Regions from separate parts of the Homo sapiens genome. Here regions 1, 2, 4 and 5 are each linked to region 3. Evidence: promoter capture Hi-C in human tissues and cell types (Jung and others, 2019). All regions are on one chromosome and are shown on one strand. Each heading gives the region's core, a stretch centred on a gene start or on the middle of the fragment in contact. The rest is flanking DNA. Distances are from core to core; before and after follow the strand shown.

What was found. The method cuts DNA at HindIII sites, captures the fragments that hold promoters and counts their contacts. A contact is called where the count stands out against the background at its distance.
Region 1: a contact is called between a fragment that was not itself captured here and the fragment with the promoter of DCST2 in region 3, in 1 of the 25 tissues and cell types used here (spleen).
Region 2: a contact is called between a fragment that was not itself captured here and the fragment with the promoter of DCST2 in region 3, in 1 of the 25 tissues and cell types used here (dorsolateral prefrontal cortex).
Region 4: a fragment that was not itself captured here is called in contact with the fragment with the promoter of DCST2 in region 3 in 4 of the 25 tissues and cell types used here (hippocampus, lymphoblastoid cells, mesenchymal stem cells and 1 more).
Region 5: a contact is called between a fragment that was not itself captured here and the fragment with the promoter of DCST2 in region 3, in 2 of the 25 tissues and cell types used here (dorsolateral prefrontal cortex and spleen).

The regions. Positions count from the first base shown.
Region 1 is chr1:154,656,356-154,659,151 of GRCh38, forward strand. No RefSeq gene overlaps it. Among named protein-coding and RNA genes, the nearest start is that of ADAR, 50 kb to the left of the region's middle. The HindIII fragment of the contact is 9,513 bases long and covers 1-2,796 here.
Region 2 is chr1:154,688,767-154,691,716 of GRCh38, forward strand. No RefSeq gene overlaps it. Among named protein-coding and RNA genes, the nearest start is that of ADAR, 82 kb to the left of the region's middle. The HindIII fragment of the contact is 3,971 bases long and covers 1-2,950 here.
Region 3 is chr1:155,032,451-155,035,356 of GRCh38, forward strand. DCST2 (DC-STAMP domain containing 2) reads right to left here and starts at 1,331. Exons shown (of 15, transcript NM_144622.3): 1 at 984-1,331; 2 at 644-814; 3 at 217-318. The coding sequence starts at 1,251. It overlaps DCST1 (DC-STAMP domain containing 1), which reads left to right and starts at 1,374. Exons shown (of 17, transcript NM_152494.4): 1 at 1,374-1,404; 2 at 1,522-1,647; 3 at 1,985-2,110; 4 at 2,203-2,277. The coding sequence starts at 1,587. The HindIII fragment of the contact is 8,066 bases long and covers 1-2,906 here.
Region 4 is chr1:154,600,566-154,603,696 of GRCh38, forward strand. ADAR (adenosine deaminase RNA specific) reads right to left here. Exons shown (of 15, transcript NM_001111.5): 2 at 476-2,061. Among named protein-coding and RNA genes, the nearest start is that of ADAR, 6.1 kb to the right of the region's middle. The HindIII fragment of the contact is 4,304 bases long and covers 1-3,131 here.
Region 5 is chr1:154,737,945-154,741,146 of GRCh38, forward strand. All of the region lies in intron 3 of KCNN3 (potassium calcium-activated channel subfamily N member 3), which reads right to left. Among named protein-coding and RNA genes, the nearest start is that of KCNN3, 130 kb to the right of the region's middle. The HindIII fragment of the contact is 3,387 bases long and covers 106-3,202 here.

The sequences.
Region 1 (2,796 bases), core at 290-2,789, 380 kb before region 3:
GGTAATAAACTTTCTTAGCTTTGGTTATCTTGAGATGTCTTAATTTCTCCTTCACTTTTGAAGGATGCATTTGCTGGATGTAGGATTCGTGGTTAACATTTTTTTTTTCTTTTAGCACTTCAAATATATTGGCCAGCTGCTTCCTGGACTCCAAAGTTTCTCATGAGAAGTTCTCTGATAATCTTAATTAGGATCCCTTGTGTGTGACAAGTTGCTTTTTTCTTTCTGCTTTCAAGATTCTCTCTTTGTCTTTCAAAAGTTTGATTACAATGTGTCTCAGAGTGGGTCTCTTTAGTTTATTTTACTTCTTGGGTGTCTATATTCATGTCTTGTATCAAATTTATTATGTGTATATATTTGTGTAACCACCACCAAAATCAAGATAAAGAACAGCTTCATCATTGCAAGGCTCCCTTGTGCTACCCCTTTATAGCCACAACCAGTCCCCCTTCCCCTCATTCCTAATTCTTGACAACAATTAACGTGTTCTCCATCTCTATAATTTTGTTATTTAAGTAATGTTATATAAATGAAATAATACTGTATGTAGCCTTTTGAGATAGGCTTTTTTTTTTCAACTCAGCATAATTCCCATGAGATTCATCTAGATTGTTACACGTATTAATAGCCCATTCCTTTTTATGACTGAATCCTAGTCCATGGTATGGATATACCAGTTTGCTTAACCACTCGCCCATTGAAGTATACTTGGGCTATTTTCAGTTTTGAGATGTTATGAATAAAGTGGCTATAAACATCTGAGCATAGGTTTTGGGTGACTATAACTTTTCATATCTCTGGGATAAATGCCCAAGAATGTAATTGCTGATTTTATTCTTTTTTAGAGAGTACCTTGGATCATCTTGGCTCTTTGCTCTTTCACATATATTTTAGAATTGGCTTGTCAAAATTATGAAAAACACTTTAAAGTTTTGATAGAAATGGCACTGAATCTATGAGACATTTGGGTGAGAATTTAGGATATTGAGACTTTCTAGCCATTGATAATATTTCTCTCTTTTTACTTAATTCTTCTTAATGTATTTCAATAAAGCATCATGATCTTCTTTGTATCAGTACTGCAATTATTCCCAGGTGCCCATACCAGTCAGGAAAGACTGGTTGTGTTATGGCAATAAAACAACCAAAAAAGTTTATTTCTTCCTCATGCTACATGTTCATCATGAGTCAGGGGGCTCTATTCCACATTTTAATTTTTTTCTATCTGTTTTTTCACCTTCTAAAATCCTTAGAATGTTCCACATTTTCATCATTCTTACTTTGAGGCTCAGCCTGAAAGGGAAGCTACTGTAGAACATTGCCAGTTGTGGAGGGAAAAGGGAACTTGGAGAAGCATGCACTGGCTCTTAGGCTTCTGGCTGGGAGTCTGTCACTTCTGCTCACTCTGCATTGGCTAAAGCAAGTCTAAGGCTAGCACTTCTCATATCATGTCTCTCTCTCTCTCTCTCTCTCTCTCTCTGTGTGTGTGTGTGTGTGTGTGTGTGTGCGTTTCTGTCTCTATCTCTCTCCACACGTACACACACCCTCTCCAAGCATCTTGGGAGACCTGAGCCAACACATAAGAAGTCTAGCTACCCTGAAGCCACCATACTAGAGAGATCATGTGTAAAGACCTCACAGAAATAGCGAGAGATGCCTCCAAAACTGAGCTGGCAAGTATTCTCTCTTTTTCTATCGTCCACAAAAACTCCTATAAGATTGGAATGATCTTCTCCTTGAAAATTTCATATAACTCACCTGGAAAATATCAGGGCTTGGTATTTTCTTTGCGGGAACACTTTAAATACTGATTGAATTTCTTTAATTATTATAGAGCTATTCATTCTGCCTTTCTAGTCTTGAATCTGTTTTGGTAAATTATATTTTCTAGGACGTTTTCCATATCATCTAAGTTTTGAATTATTAGCATTGATTTGTTTATACTTTTATGTTTAAATGTTCACTATAACCATAGTTATAGATTTTTATCTCGTTTTCAGTTTTCAGTATTGCTTATCTGTACATGCTGTTTATCTCTGTCTCTTAAATTTTTCCAGAAGTCTTTCAACTTCAAAGAATCAATTTTGGCTTTGTTGATCCTCCGTTTTCAGTTTCATTACTTTCTCTACTTATTGTTATTTTTTTCTTCCTACTACTTTCCTCATGGTTATTCTGCTGTTCTTTTTCTGATTTCCCAAGTTGGAGATTTAGCTCATTATTTTTATTCTCTCTACTTTTTAAATTATAAGCATTTAAAGTTATTAATTTCCAACCTTTTCGGTGTTGAAGTCTTAATTTCGGCAATTTTGTTTTTTATTTCTACAATTTATGTTTGACATTTTTTCATATCAAGGTCATTTTTATAGTCTTGTTCCTCTATCATGTTTTAAAATCTTCTTAAAAACCTGTCAATTCCTCATTTGTTTTACTTCATATGGTCACGTCAATGCTGAAGTCTTTGCGAGTCTGATTTTGCTGTTAATTTCTCTGCTGACTTTCTTTCTTTTTCTTTTTCTTTTTTTTTGAGATGGAGTCTCGCTCTGTCGCCCAGGCTGGAGTGCAGTGGCGCTATCTCAGCTCACTGCAAGCTCCACCTCCCAGGTTCACGCCATTCTCCTGCCTCAGCCTCCCGAGTAGCTGGGACTACAGGCGCCTGCCACCACGCCCGGCTAATTTTGTTTTTGTATTTTTAGTAGAGGCAGGGTTTCACTGTGTTAGCCAGGATGGTCTCGATTTCCTGACCTCGTGATCTGCCCCCCTCGGCCTCCCAAAGTGCTGGGATTACAGGCGTGAGCC
Region 2 (2,950 bases), core at 345-2,844, 340 kb before region 3:
TTGATAGGGTATAGAAATGTAATTAATTTGTATGTGTTGAATTTGTACCAGCAATCATACTGTCTTATTAATTCTAATAATCTATCTTTAGACGCTTTTAAGTAGATGGGTAGATAAACATAGCGGCTGCCAATAATGACAAAATTTTCTACCGTTCTAATCCTTTTCCTCTTATTTATTTTTCCATCCTTATTACACCGCTAGACCCTCCACTGTGGAGGGGTAATAACAGGCATCTTGATTTTACCGGTAAGAATGATGTGTGCTTTAGGAAGATATCATTTTGCAGATGCCATTGATTGTGTTAAGGAAGTTCCCTTTTGTATTAACTTTCTATTGCTGCATAACAAATTACCACAGGTTTAGTGACTCGAACAACACATATTTATTACCTCAGTTTCCATGGTTCAGGAGCCTGGGTACAGTTTAGTTGGGTTATTTGGTCAGAGTCTCACAAGGATTAGTCAACATTTGGCCAGGCTGCATTCTTGTCTGGAGGTTCAACTAGAGAATATTCTTTTCTCTAAGCTCATTCAAATTGCTGGCAGAATTCATTTCCTGGTGGCTACATGACTGGTGGCCCTGGCTTATTACTGGCTGTTGGTCACTCTCGGCTCCTAGTGGCTGCCCACAGCCCCCTGCCGTAGGCCTTGGCAGTTCACAACAGATCTGTTGCATCAAGGCCAGTAGGAAAATCTCTCCAGTCCATTAACATGGAATCTTATTTGAAAAAAAAAAAAAAAAAAAAAAAAGCATAATCTTGGGAGTGACATCTCATCACCTTTGCCATATTCCTGGCCAGAAGCAATGCTCAGGGTTTGTTTTTTATTTTTAATTTACCAATGTTTAATTAATCTTTTAAAAAATCTATTATTGTTAGATTATTTTTCTTCTTTGGTTCATTGGTAAATTTTATTTTACTTTTCTAAGATTAAAAAAAAACTTGTATTCTTTGGGTCAGATTTAATTCTGGTGTACTCCCCCACCTCCCACACCTATTTCTAGATTTGGTTTGATCACAGCATGTTTAGGATGTTTGAATCAACAGTCTTAAGTAAAACTTGTCTATAATTTTCCTTCCTTGTACTGTCCTCATCAGGTTCTGATATCAATCCTTTGCTAGCCTCATAAAATGACTTGGAAAGTGGTCTTTTTCTTTTCTTTTTTTCTTATGATCTAGGAAAAAAATATGTGAATTGGATTTACTTTGCTATTTAAATGTTTGGTAGAATTTGCCAAAATCATCTAGGCCAGTTTTCTTTGCGACAGAATTTTTATTTTTATTTTTATTTTTAGACGGAGTCTTGCTCTGTCTCCAGGCTGGAGTGCAGGGGCGCGATCTCGGCTCACTGCAACCTCCACCTCCCGGGTTCAAGTGATTCTCCTGCCTCAGCCTCCAGAGTAGTTGGGATTACAGGCACATGCCACCATGCCCGGCTAACTTTTTTTTGTATTTTTAGTCGAGACGGGGTTTCGCCATGTTGGCCAGGATTGTCTTGATCTCTTGACCTCATGATCCACCCACCTCGGCCTCCCAAAGTCTAGGATTACAGGCGTGAGCCACTGCACCCAGCCTCTTTGTGACAAAATTTTGAATCATTCATTCATTCATTTATAGTTTAAAAAATGATACTATGATTATTCCATTTTTCTATTTCTTCTTGAGTCCGTTTTGGTAAGTAATATTTTTCATTTCCAAATATCTTCTTATCTTTTTAGCATTTGTAGCATCATTCCTAATATTGTTTTGTGTTCTCTCTCTCTCCCTTTTCTCCCTTTCTCTGTTTTTCTGTCTCTTGTTTAATCCTGCTAGAGAATTATCAATTTTATTAGTAAATTCAAAGGAAGAACTTTTGACTTTTAAAAAACCTCATCTAGTGTGAGTTTACTTTCTATTAATTGTTTCTGCTCTTGTCTCTATTTGTATATTCTACTTTATTTGGAAATCTCATGTTACTCTTTCTAATTTCTTTCTTCCTTTTCTTTTTTTTTTGAGACGGAGTCTCACACTGTCTCTCAGACTGGAGTGCAATGGTGCGACCTCAGCTCACTGCAAGCTTTGCCTCCCGGGATCACGCCATTCTCCTGCCTCAGCCTCCTGAGTAGCTGGAACTACAGGCACCTGCCACCACGCCTGGCTAATTTTTTTTGTATTTGTAGTAGAGACAGGGTTTCACCGTGTTAGCCAGGATGGTCTTGATCTCCTGACCTCGTGATCCGCCCGCCTTGGTCTCCCAAAGTGCTGGGATTACACGCGTGAGCCACCGCACCCAGCCTAATCTTTCTAATTTCTTAAAATTTCATTCAACTCATTTTGAAACACAGCATTTTCCTTAATGTTCTGTTTTACATATTTAAATTTTTATGATTTATTCTTTGATTCATAAATTATTTATGTTTCTTAACTTCCAAAGGTATTATTTTAGTTACGATTTTTTGCTTACTGAATTTTATTTATGTATTTATTTTTTTCAAGTTCAGCTTCCACCAGGTATGGTGGTTATTTTGCTTTTTTTTTTTGAAACGAAGTATTGCTCTGTTGCCCAGGTTGGAGTGCAGTGGTGCAATCTTGGTTCACTGCAGCCTCTGCCTCCCAGGTTCAAACGATTCTCCTGCCTCAACCTCCCTAGTAGCTGGGATTACAGGTGGGCACCACCACTCCTGGCTAATTTTTGTATTTTTAGTAGACACAGGGTTTCACCATGTTGGCCAGGCTGGTCTCAAACTCCTGACCTTAAGTGATCCACCTGTCTCAACTTCCCAAAGTGCTGGGATTACAGGTGTGAGCCACTGCGCCCGGCCTGAACTTTGGTATATATTACACTGAAGTCAGAGAATTTTGTTTGTATGGTACCATTCCTTTAAAACGTGTTGAACTTGGCCGGCACGGTGGCCCACACCTGTAATCCCAGCACTTTGGAAGTCCGAGGAGGGGGGATCACGAGGTCAG
Region 3 (2,906 bases), core at 81-2,580:
TCATTACATCTGGCTAGTTTTATTTATTTTCTATTTTTTTATTTTTTATAGAGACAGGGTCTCGCCATGTTGCCAAGGCTGGTCTCAAACTCCTGGGCTCAAGTGATTCTCCCACCTCGGCCTCGCAAAGTGCTGGGATTACAGGCATGAGCCACCGCACCCGGCCAGGACTGGGTGCATTTTGAGTCCCCGGGATAGACATGCTAATGTGCTTACCTATGTGTTTCACACCATCCATGATTGACCGAAAGAACTTGCGGACCCGGTCAGCCACCTCTTTGGTCTTCCGGGCAATAGCTTTAATCTTGTTCAGGGCACCTGATGGGTGAGGGACAGAGGCACTTTGGAGTCTTCTCCTCTAGGGGCTGGTTCTCACCATTGCCCCTTAAGCAGGGAGTAGAGAGGAGGCCACCATTTCCAGAGGCGGGAAGCCTGGATTCTGGGGCCTGGGAGATCGTTAATCTGGGAGTGGAGGAGGCCAGAGAGCAAGGAGAGAGGGTTTAGCTGTGCCCAGAGTCCCTTCCAGGCCCAGATGCTCCGCGATTAGCACCAGCAGAGAAGGAGGCCAAAGGACTGTAGAACATGCAGGATGAGGGGGGCGAGGGGGGCCCGTGGGAGACAGTGGTAGAGGTGGGGGACTTACTGACAAGAGGTTGCTTGGCCCTCTGTAGCACTTCGGCGGTCTGGTTCAGGGCCAGCTCTGCCCCACAGGCTACAGCCTCGCTGGCCCGGGTGAAGTTGCGTAGAGTGTTGGCACAAGGCCCTTGAAGCACCAACCCAAAAGCAGCCACCAACAGTAGTGTCCGGCCCTGCCCTGGGGGCGACAGCTTTGTTAGAACCAAGACCCCAGCCCCAAACATGGCAGCAAGTCCCTTACATAAGCCTTCAGAATATTTCCCTTAACCCCTGCCTCTCCTCCAGCATCTCTTCTGCCCCAGCACCAGCCCCAGGACCTGCCCCCTAGCCCTGGGTGCCAAGCTCACTGGAGAAGGCCTGAGGCAGCAGCAGGAGGACAGTGGCTCGGACCTGGCGAGAGAATCCCATGCCCAGGCTAAGGAAGGCAGCCAAAGTGAGGGTGCCCACCAGGCAACCCCAGGGGCTGTGGCCTTCCACCAGTAGCTCCAGAAGCCCGTAGGCCGTGGCTAAAGACAAGCCCAGGGTAAAACCTCCCACGCTGCGAACCACAGCTCTCGCCATGCTAGGCTCCTCTCCCCCCAAGGGGTGCACAACATCCTTCATGACTTTGGGCATGGCTGCTGAGACCAAATGTCTGCCTGTCTCCAGGAGATGCCCGCTGACTTCTGTGCTCCTGGAATTTCTCACCGTATTCTAAGGTTCCAAAGGGCTTTCACTGCATATGTCTTGGAATCCTTGACCCAGTTCCGAGGACTGGAGAGGGGATAGGTAGGTCTCTAATCTCCTTCCCCACTTCTCGGAGCAGAAGGATTAAAAGGCCCAGAGCTCAGGCCTAGGCTTCCCATGAAGCGGAAGAGACAGGCAGCACCTCTCTTCTCTCACCAGAACCTTGTGTCCAAGGAGGTCCTTCAGGAGACCTGGGATGAGTGGTGCTTCCCCAAAACAGACTCATGGACATTAAACATCATCAGAATGGCACAAGAGGGCAAAGAAGAAAACAGCCTCATACCAGTGAGTCACTCAGCAGAGACCCAGTATCCCTTGACCTCCACTCTCATCCCATCTCTCCTCCTGGAACTCCTGCACACTATCCCCCAACTCGGTGTCCGCGCCTCCACCACCTCTCTGGTCTAGTGCCTCCCGCCTCCCAGCCCAGCCCTTGCCTTTGCTGTCCCTTACACCCATACCACTTCCTCAGGCTCCCTCATCCTCCTCCAGGGTCCCCTAAGTTCCTACTGTTTCACATGCCAGGTTTCCCCAGCCTCTATCCACCTGCAAGCCCTGAATCCTAATGAGCCCCATCCCAGGCAGAAGAGTGGGCTGTTGAGCTACCCTGTCCCCCTCTTAGCGGTGCAGAGGCTCCTGACCTGGGGGCTGCCAGTCTCCTGTAGCTGGTTCCTGTGGCGCCAGCCGGGCGAGTTTCCTGTCACTGCTCTCCTGCTGGGGGCAGGCGCTGGGGGGCTCCTGGCCATAGGTGAGTGTGGAAGCAGAAAGTTCGGGGTGGGCAGAGGCTGGACCAGGGCTAGGACCCATCTTTTGGCCTTTGGCTTGACCTTGTGCCCTTAGGTCTCTTTCAGCTCCTGGTGAACCCCATGAACATCTACGAAGAACAGAAGATTATGTTCTTGTACAGCTTGGTGGGTTAGTGCTGGGCAAAAGCCAGGAACACTCAAGCGGCCTGTGGAACACAGCGCCGTCCTGCATGCCCAGGAAGGAGTCGGGACTTGTTTCTTCTGTACCCATACATCCCCTGTGGCTTCCGCCTCCTCCTGGGCTTTACGGGGAGGTCCAGAGGGAAGAGGCTGCCAATTTAAGAAGGAAGACACCGTCCTTGCCCTGAGGGAGTCTCTCCATTCCGAGGGACTCCCCATCACCCACATGATATAGTCCAACCCCATAACCCTTCATAACTCTCATCTCTCCTGACCTGTCTGACCTCGTTTTCTGATCCTCCTAAGAAATTAAATTCATTCATTCATTCATTCATTCACTCAGCACTTACTGAGAATCTGCTGAGGATTTAGCAGTAAACAAGGATGACAAGCATCCAGCCGTTTTGCTTTGGTTTTGTTTGTATGTTTTTGTTTTCGTTTTGAGACGGAGTCTCGCTCTGTTGCCCAGGCTGGAGTGCAGTGGCTCAATCTCAGCTCACTGCAACCTCCACCTCCCAGGTTCAAGCCATTCTCCTGCTCAGCCTCCCAAGTAGCTGGGATTACAGGCACCCATCACCATGCCCAGCTAATTTTTGTATTTTTAGTAGAGACGGGGTT
Region 4 (3,131 bases), core at 358-2,857, 430 kb before region 3:
TGGGTTCAAGTGATTCTCCTGTCTCAGCTTCCTGAGTAGCTGGGACTACAGGTGCACGCCACCACGCCCAGCTAATTTTTGTATTTTTAGTAGAGACAGGGTTTCACCATGTTGGCCAGGCTGGTCTCAAACTCCTGACCTCGTGATATGCCTGCCTCGGCCTCAAAAAGTGCTGGGATTACAGGCATGAGCCACCGCGTACGGCCAAAACCAATCATTTCTAAAGAAGCTTCATTACAGCCAACAGAGTCAACCTCCCCCTTGTTCAGCCAAGATTCTGGCTGGTCCAAGGTCTATATTCCCTGCTCAATATCTGGAGAAAGGGCCAATCAAGGGGAATTTAGCTAAAAGGCAGAAGGGAAGGAGGAAAAGATAGGCGCCACCAAACAGCACTGCTCACAAATCAGCCAAGACTGCGTCAGGAGCAAAAGCACCTGACCCCAACCCTAGGTACAGTTCCTGGGTGGTCTCTTACCGAGGTTCATGGGGTGGTCCACTCTGCTCTATCATGTTGAACTCACAGGTTTGACTAGCGAACTGGGCATATTCTAACAGCCCGCTGATGGGGTTCTTCAGCTGGCACTCTGTCAGTTTCTTGTAGGGTGAACACCGTGGCAAGCCATGACTGTAGAAGGAGGGCATCTCCATGATGGCTCGAAACTCACCTGGTGCTGCGCGGATACTATTCAAGTCATCTGGGATGTCATCTGTGGCCCACTGGCCATTTTCAAAGTCAACATACCCTGCTTTTGAGGGGCCATTGTAATGAACAGGTGGTTTCAGTCTTGCTGGTTCTGGTCTGGCCTCTTGCCTGTTTTCTAACTTTATGACAGGTTCCTGCCCATTCTCCACTTTTTCTGTGGTTACCATGTTATTTGAGGCATTTGATGTGGGTATATTACAGGTGAGGAACTCTGCGTTTCTTTTGGTCTCAGGGATTGCAGCTGGAGCGGTTTCAGGAACACTGTTCGTATTTCTCTTGATTTGCATCCTCTCTCGCTTCTTGTCTGTCAAATGCCATATGGGAGGGGTTGTCCCTTGTCTATAGACATCCCCCTGCCTTTCCATGTCAATTAGCACAGCATTTATATCTCGGGCCTTGGTAAGGCCAATATTTTTAGCCAAATTCAGGGCAGAGGAGTCAGACACATTGAAGAGATAGTCGCAGATTTTCTCCTTGATCTCGGCCATGTCTAAAAACTCAAGAGGATCTTCCAAGGCAGATGTGGAGTTGCTGTCTTCAGGTTCCAAACCTGGGTCTGAGTTTGGGGATCCTTGGCTATGACTGTCTGGTCTTACCACTCCGCTGTGCTGGTTCCAAGCCTGAGCTGAGACTGCAATAAAAGGCTCAAGAAGATCTTCTGAGACAGATGTGGAGTTTCTGTCTTCCGGTTCCAAACTCGGGTCTGAGTTTGGGGCTCCTTGGCTATGACCGTCTGGTCTTACCACTCCGCTGTGCTGGTTCCAAGCCTGAGTGGAGACCGCGATTTTCCACAAAGGGGGTGTTCCTGCCTCTTTCTGTAGCTTGCCCTTCTTTGCCAGGGAGTATAAAACTCGATTGATTTCTTTCTTCGGAGTCCCAAGTTTCCCAGACAGATCATGTGCTGTGGTGGCCTTCCCTTCCCCAAGCTCTTCCAGGAACTTTAAGATCCTTTGTTCCTGATCTTGGTAGATACTCAGTTCCTGGAAATGTGAGGAAAGGCAATCAACACCTCTCTGTGGCAGACTCCTGCCACGTGGTGAAGGATGCTGGAACCCTCTCTGGAGCCCCTGACTTCTGAGATGCACGCCCCTGGGGACACCCCTGATGTCCACTTGCCTGCCTCTGGTACTGGAGGCAAGTAGTACTGGAAACCTTGGCCGGAGTCCTGGGAGGGAAGGTGGCAGTGACGGTGTCTGCTTTCCAATCACCGGTGCTTCTGGGAGCTGCCCCTTGAGAAATTCTATTTGCTTAAGCAGGAAACTACTGGGGGAAGATCCTGGCCCAGGCTGCTGGTACCTGAGCTGTCTGTGCTCATAGCCTTGAAATGGATGGGTGTAGTATCCGCTGAGGGAATACCCCTGCAGAATAAGACAGTGGAAAAAGAAAATGAATTAGGGCTGCAGTGGTGAACCTGTGGAGGCCCCTCCCTTTGCTGCCTGTGGAACAGCCCTTGAAGGGCTGAGAAGGCAATTGAGCCATGGGCTTATGACTTGGCTAGGGTGACTTGCCTACCTCCTAAATCCTGCCTAGGGGCCTGCCAACAGGAACACAGAGAGGGGAGCAGGAGGCAAAGCACGCAGAACTTCCAGGAATACAGAGGTTCTGAGGCCTCAGCATAGCCTCTCCAGCAACCTAACTTACTTTTCCCTTTGACAGAATTTAAGGGAGTTGAGAAGGTAATTTTCTAGTTACCAAAACAATTACCCCTTTAAAATCAGAACAACAAATATATGTTATTGTTTTGAAAACAAAAACAGAATAACCTGAAATAACCAGAACAATCACATGAAATAACAATAACCAAGGGAGATGGGACTAGGGAAGGGACGAGATGACCTCTCCTTAAGTCAGGCTCACCAGTGCACCCCTTGCCCACCTGTCTCTAAGATCTATCGTTTAGATGACTATGACAAAAGAAGAAATGTGATTGGATGAAACTGAACCCCAGTCCTCCAAGGCTGTAACAGCGCAGTAACGAAAACAATCTCCAGGTGGGAAAAGGCCACGGGACCTCAGAGTCATCTCTGTGGCTCTTCACTGCCATCCCAGGAGGATCAGAATTTGGTCTTCAGGGAGCTGGAGGGTTTCCTGATAAAAATGGCACACTGTCCTCACTCTTCAGTGTGGTACCCAGGCTCAGAAGGGATGCCAGAGACTTTTGCCCAAACCACCCAGGCTCTCCTGGATGTGTGGAGCTGGCAGCATCTGCTCCTCACCACCTCAGACCAGTCCTACCTTCCCTAGCTACTTCCCCATAGCTGCTTCCACTGCACGTTCTTCTGAACCCTGACGGACAGGGCACAAGCAACCCCATGTTCTCATATGCACATTTACCAGAACACCAAGCACCTGTGACCCCTTTCCCCACCCACCCACCTGCAAACCAGTACTGTCTTCTCCCCAGGGCTGTTCACTGGAGGGTGATGGA
Region 5 (3,202 bases), core at 549-3,048, 290 kb before region 3:
AGAAAATATGAGAAAATTAGTGAATCAGTCTCCCAATTCAAACAGTAGAAGTTACAGAAAGAAACAACTGGGGGGAAAAGAAGGAGAAAGAAGGAGAGAAGTAATTATTTTAAAAATCATTCAAAAACAAAAATCCCCAGAACTTAAGGGCATGAGTTTCTAGATCAAAGGCTCACTGTCCCCAGCACAGTGGATGAAAATAGATGCACACCAAGGCACATTATTGTGAAATTTCAGAACACCAGGGGAAAGGAGACAATCCTACAGAGCTTTAGGGGTTTTGGGGGAGGGTATAAAAGAGGCCAAATACAAAGAACCAGAAATTACAACAGCTTCGGACTTTTTGACAGCAACACTGGAAGCTAGAAGGCCATGGAATAAAGCCTTCAAAATTCTGGAGGAAAATTATTTCCAAATCAGAATTCCAAACCAGAGACCAGAAATCTGAATTGGCCAAAGTATTAGTTCAGTCTGAGGGTGGAACGAAGACATTTTCAGATACGTAAGGTTGTCACGGGTTTGCCTCCCATGCACCCTCTCTCAGGAAGACACAGGAGGTATGCTTCACCAAAACAAAGAAGTAAACCAAGGAGGAAGACAAGGAATAAAGGTAACGAGCTCAGGGTGATGCTACAGGGAGGCCCTCATAGGACAGGTGCTCACCAGGTGCGGAGGACAACCCGTCCGGGCTGGAGCAGGTCAAGAGGCTCTGGGAGACACTTCCAAGGAGATGAAATTGATAGGAAACTTAATGTGCCTGAACATCCTGAAAAGAGGTTTAGACAACTGCCAGAGTTTGCACTTGCATTAATGACGAATACATAGAAAACTAAGCAAACAAACAAACACGATCATTAACAACTCCAGGAAAAATGAAAAGTTCTGCAGGAAGGGAAAAGTTATCATATTTTTTACTACAAGGCTCAACTATGAATAGAGTCAAATTAGTGTTGACTGAGTAATGTAAACACTGATTACTGCTTTAACCAAAATTATGATGTAATTATAAAAGGAAGATGAAGGGAGAGGAAGAGTTGGAGGAGAGGAAAGGGAGCTAAATTTTCATCTCCCAGAGTGGGAAGGGAATAGATAATACCTAAATAAACCAAAGCATCAAAAGGTAGCAATACACACATATTACTTACAGACATGGAGGTAAATACTAAAATTAATTAGCAAAAGAAGGTAAAAGTAGCTGCCTCTGGAGAACAGTAAATGGGAAGAGCTGGTGGAAGACAGCAAATACCACGGAAGGATTGACTCTACAGTGTATGCACATGTAACTTTGATCATATCAACAGAACACCAAACCAAAGAGAAAAAACAAAACTACATGCAACATTAAATGACATCAAGAAACACAGAAAGAAAATAAGCACCATGAACTCACCATCCAGCTCCAACCTGTGGGATCTACTTGTATGTTCTCTCCATTCTTAGTGCCCCCCACCCCAGGATCATCATTACCCTGAATGTCATGTTTATCATTTCCTCGTTTTTCTTCATAGTGCTTCCATGTAGGCAGGATTACCTAAGCAATATGTAATTTCATTTTTCCTATTTCCGACCTTCATAAGGATGAAATCATACCACAAGAGTATGGTAGGAAGCTTCTAAAATGACCTCGATATCCCCCCTCCTCTTGAGGTCTTCACACACTTTTGCAATCCTTTCCTTTTGAGTGTGGGCTGGACCAAGTAACTGGTTTCTAACACATAGAGTATGGCAGAAGTGATAGACTTTCATTTCTGAAGTTAGGTTATGGTAAGATCATGGCTTCTGTCTTGGGTGATCTCTCACTAGTTATCTTTTGGATCACTCTCCCTGGGAGAATCCACAGGCCATGTCGGGAGGCAAGCCCGTGGAGTGCCACATGGCAAGGGACACAGCCTGCCAACCACCACATGAGTAGCTTAGAAGCAGGTGTTCTTTAAGTCAAGCCTTGAGGTGAGACCACAGCCCTGGCTGACAGCCTGACAATCTCATGAGAGAACTTGAGGCAGAGGTACCCATTTAAGCTGCACCTGAATTCCTGACCCACAGCAACCCTGAGATGGTAAATGTCTGCTGTTTTTAGCTGCTAAATTTTGGAGCAAGTTGTTATGTAGCAACAGATAACTAATACAGTGAACTCTTCTATGAATTGCTTCTTTTCTGTTCAACATATATATTATATTGACATATGTAGCTATAGTCTATTTTTATTCCTGTATTGTATTTCATCATATGAATATGGCATGATTTATTTATTCATTCACCTGTTGATGGACAGTGGGATAGCTTACGGGTTTTTCCTCTAATGAGAAATACTGCTACAAACATTATTTTTTATTGACTTATTGTTATTGTATTTTTAGAGACAGGGTCTTACTCTGTTGCCCAGGCTGGACTGCAGTGGCACAATCATAGCTTACTGTAGCCTCAAACTCCTGGGCTCAAGAGATTCTCCTGCCTTGACCTCCTGAAATGTTGGGATTACAGGCATGAGCCACCTCACCCAGCCCAAACATTCTTAATCATAGCTCCTGGTACACTGCATAAGAGTTTCTCTAGGACACATACCTAAGACTGGGTTTGCTGGTTTGTAGGATATGTACATATTTCACTTCATTAGGAAATGTCAAGTTGTTTTCTAAGATGCCAGTGCCAATTAGGCTTCCACCAGAGGTGGATAAGAGTTCCTGTTTCTCCATATCCTCATTAACACTTGCCATTGTCTGACTTTAATCTCTGCCACACTAGTGGGTGAATTGGGATCTCATCAAGACTTGACTTTACGTTTCCATGATAAAAGCTTAAGTAGCCTTTCATATGTTTCTTTGTCATTCATACTTTCTCTTCTGTGGCGTGTCATTCATGACTTTTGTCCACTTTTCTATTGGCTTGTTTTTGTTTTTTCTCATTGATTCTAAAAGTTATTTATATATTCTAGATAATAAGAATTTTGTCAGTTTGTGTGTTGCAAATATCTTCTTCCAGTGTGTGCCTTGCCTTTTTCTCTACAGTATTTTTGATGAATAGAAGTTTTAAATTTTACTGTAGGTGACTTTATCATCCTTTAATTTATAATTAGCAGTTATTTGGTTTTTGCAGAAATCATTCCCTCCCTGAGATTGTAACATTTTTACATATTTTAAAATGTTGCCTTTCTAAGTCTTCAATTTGCCTGGAATTGATTTTGCATATGGTGTGAGGCAGGGAT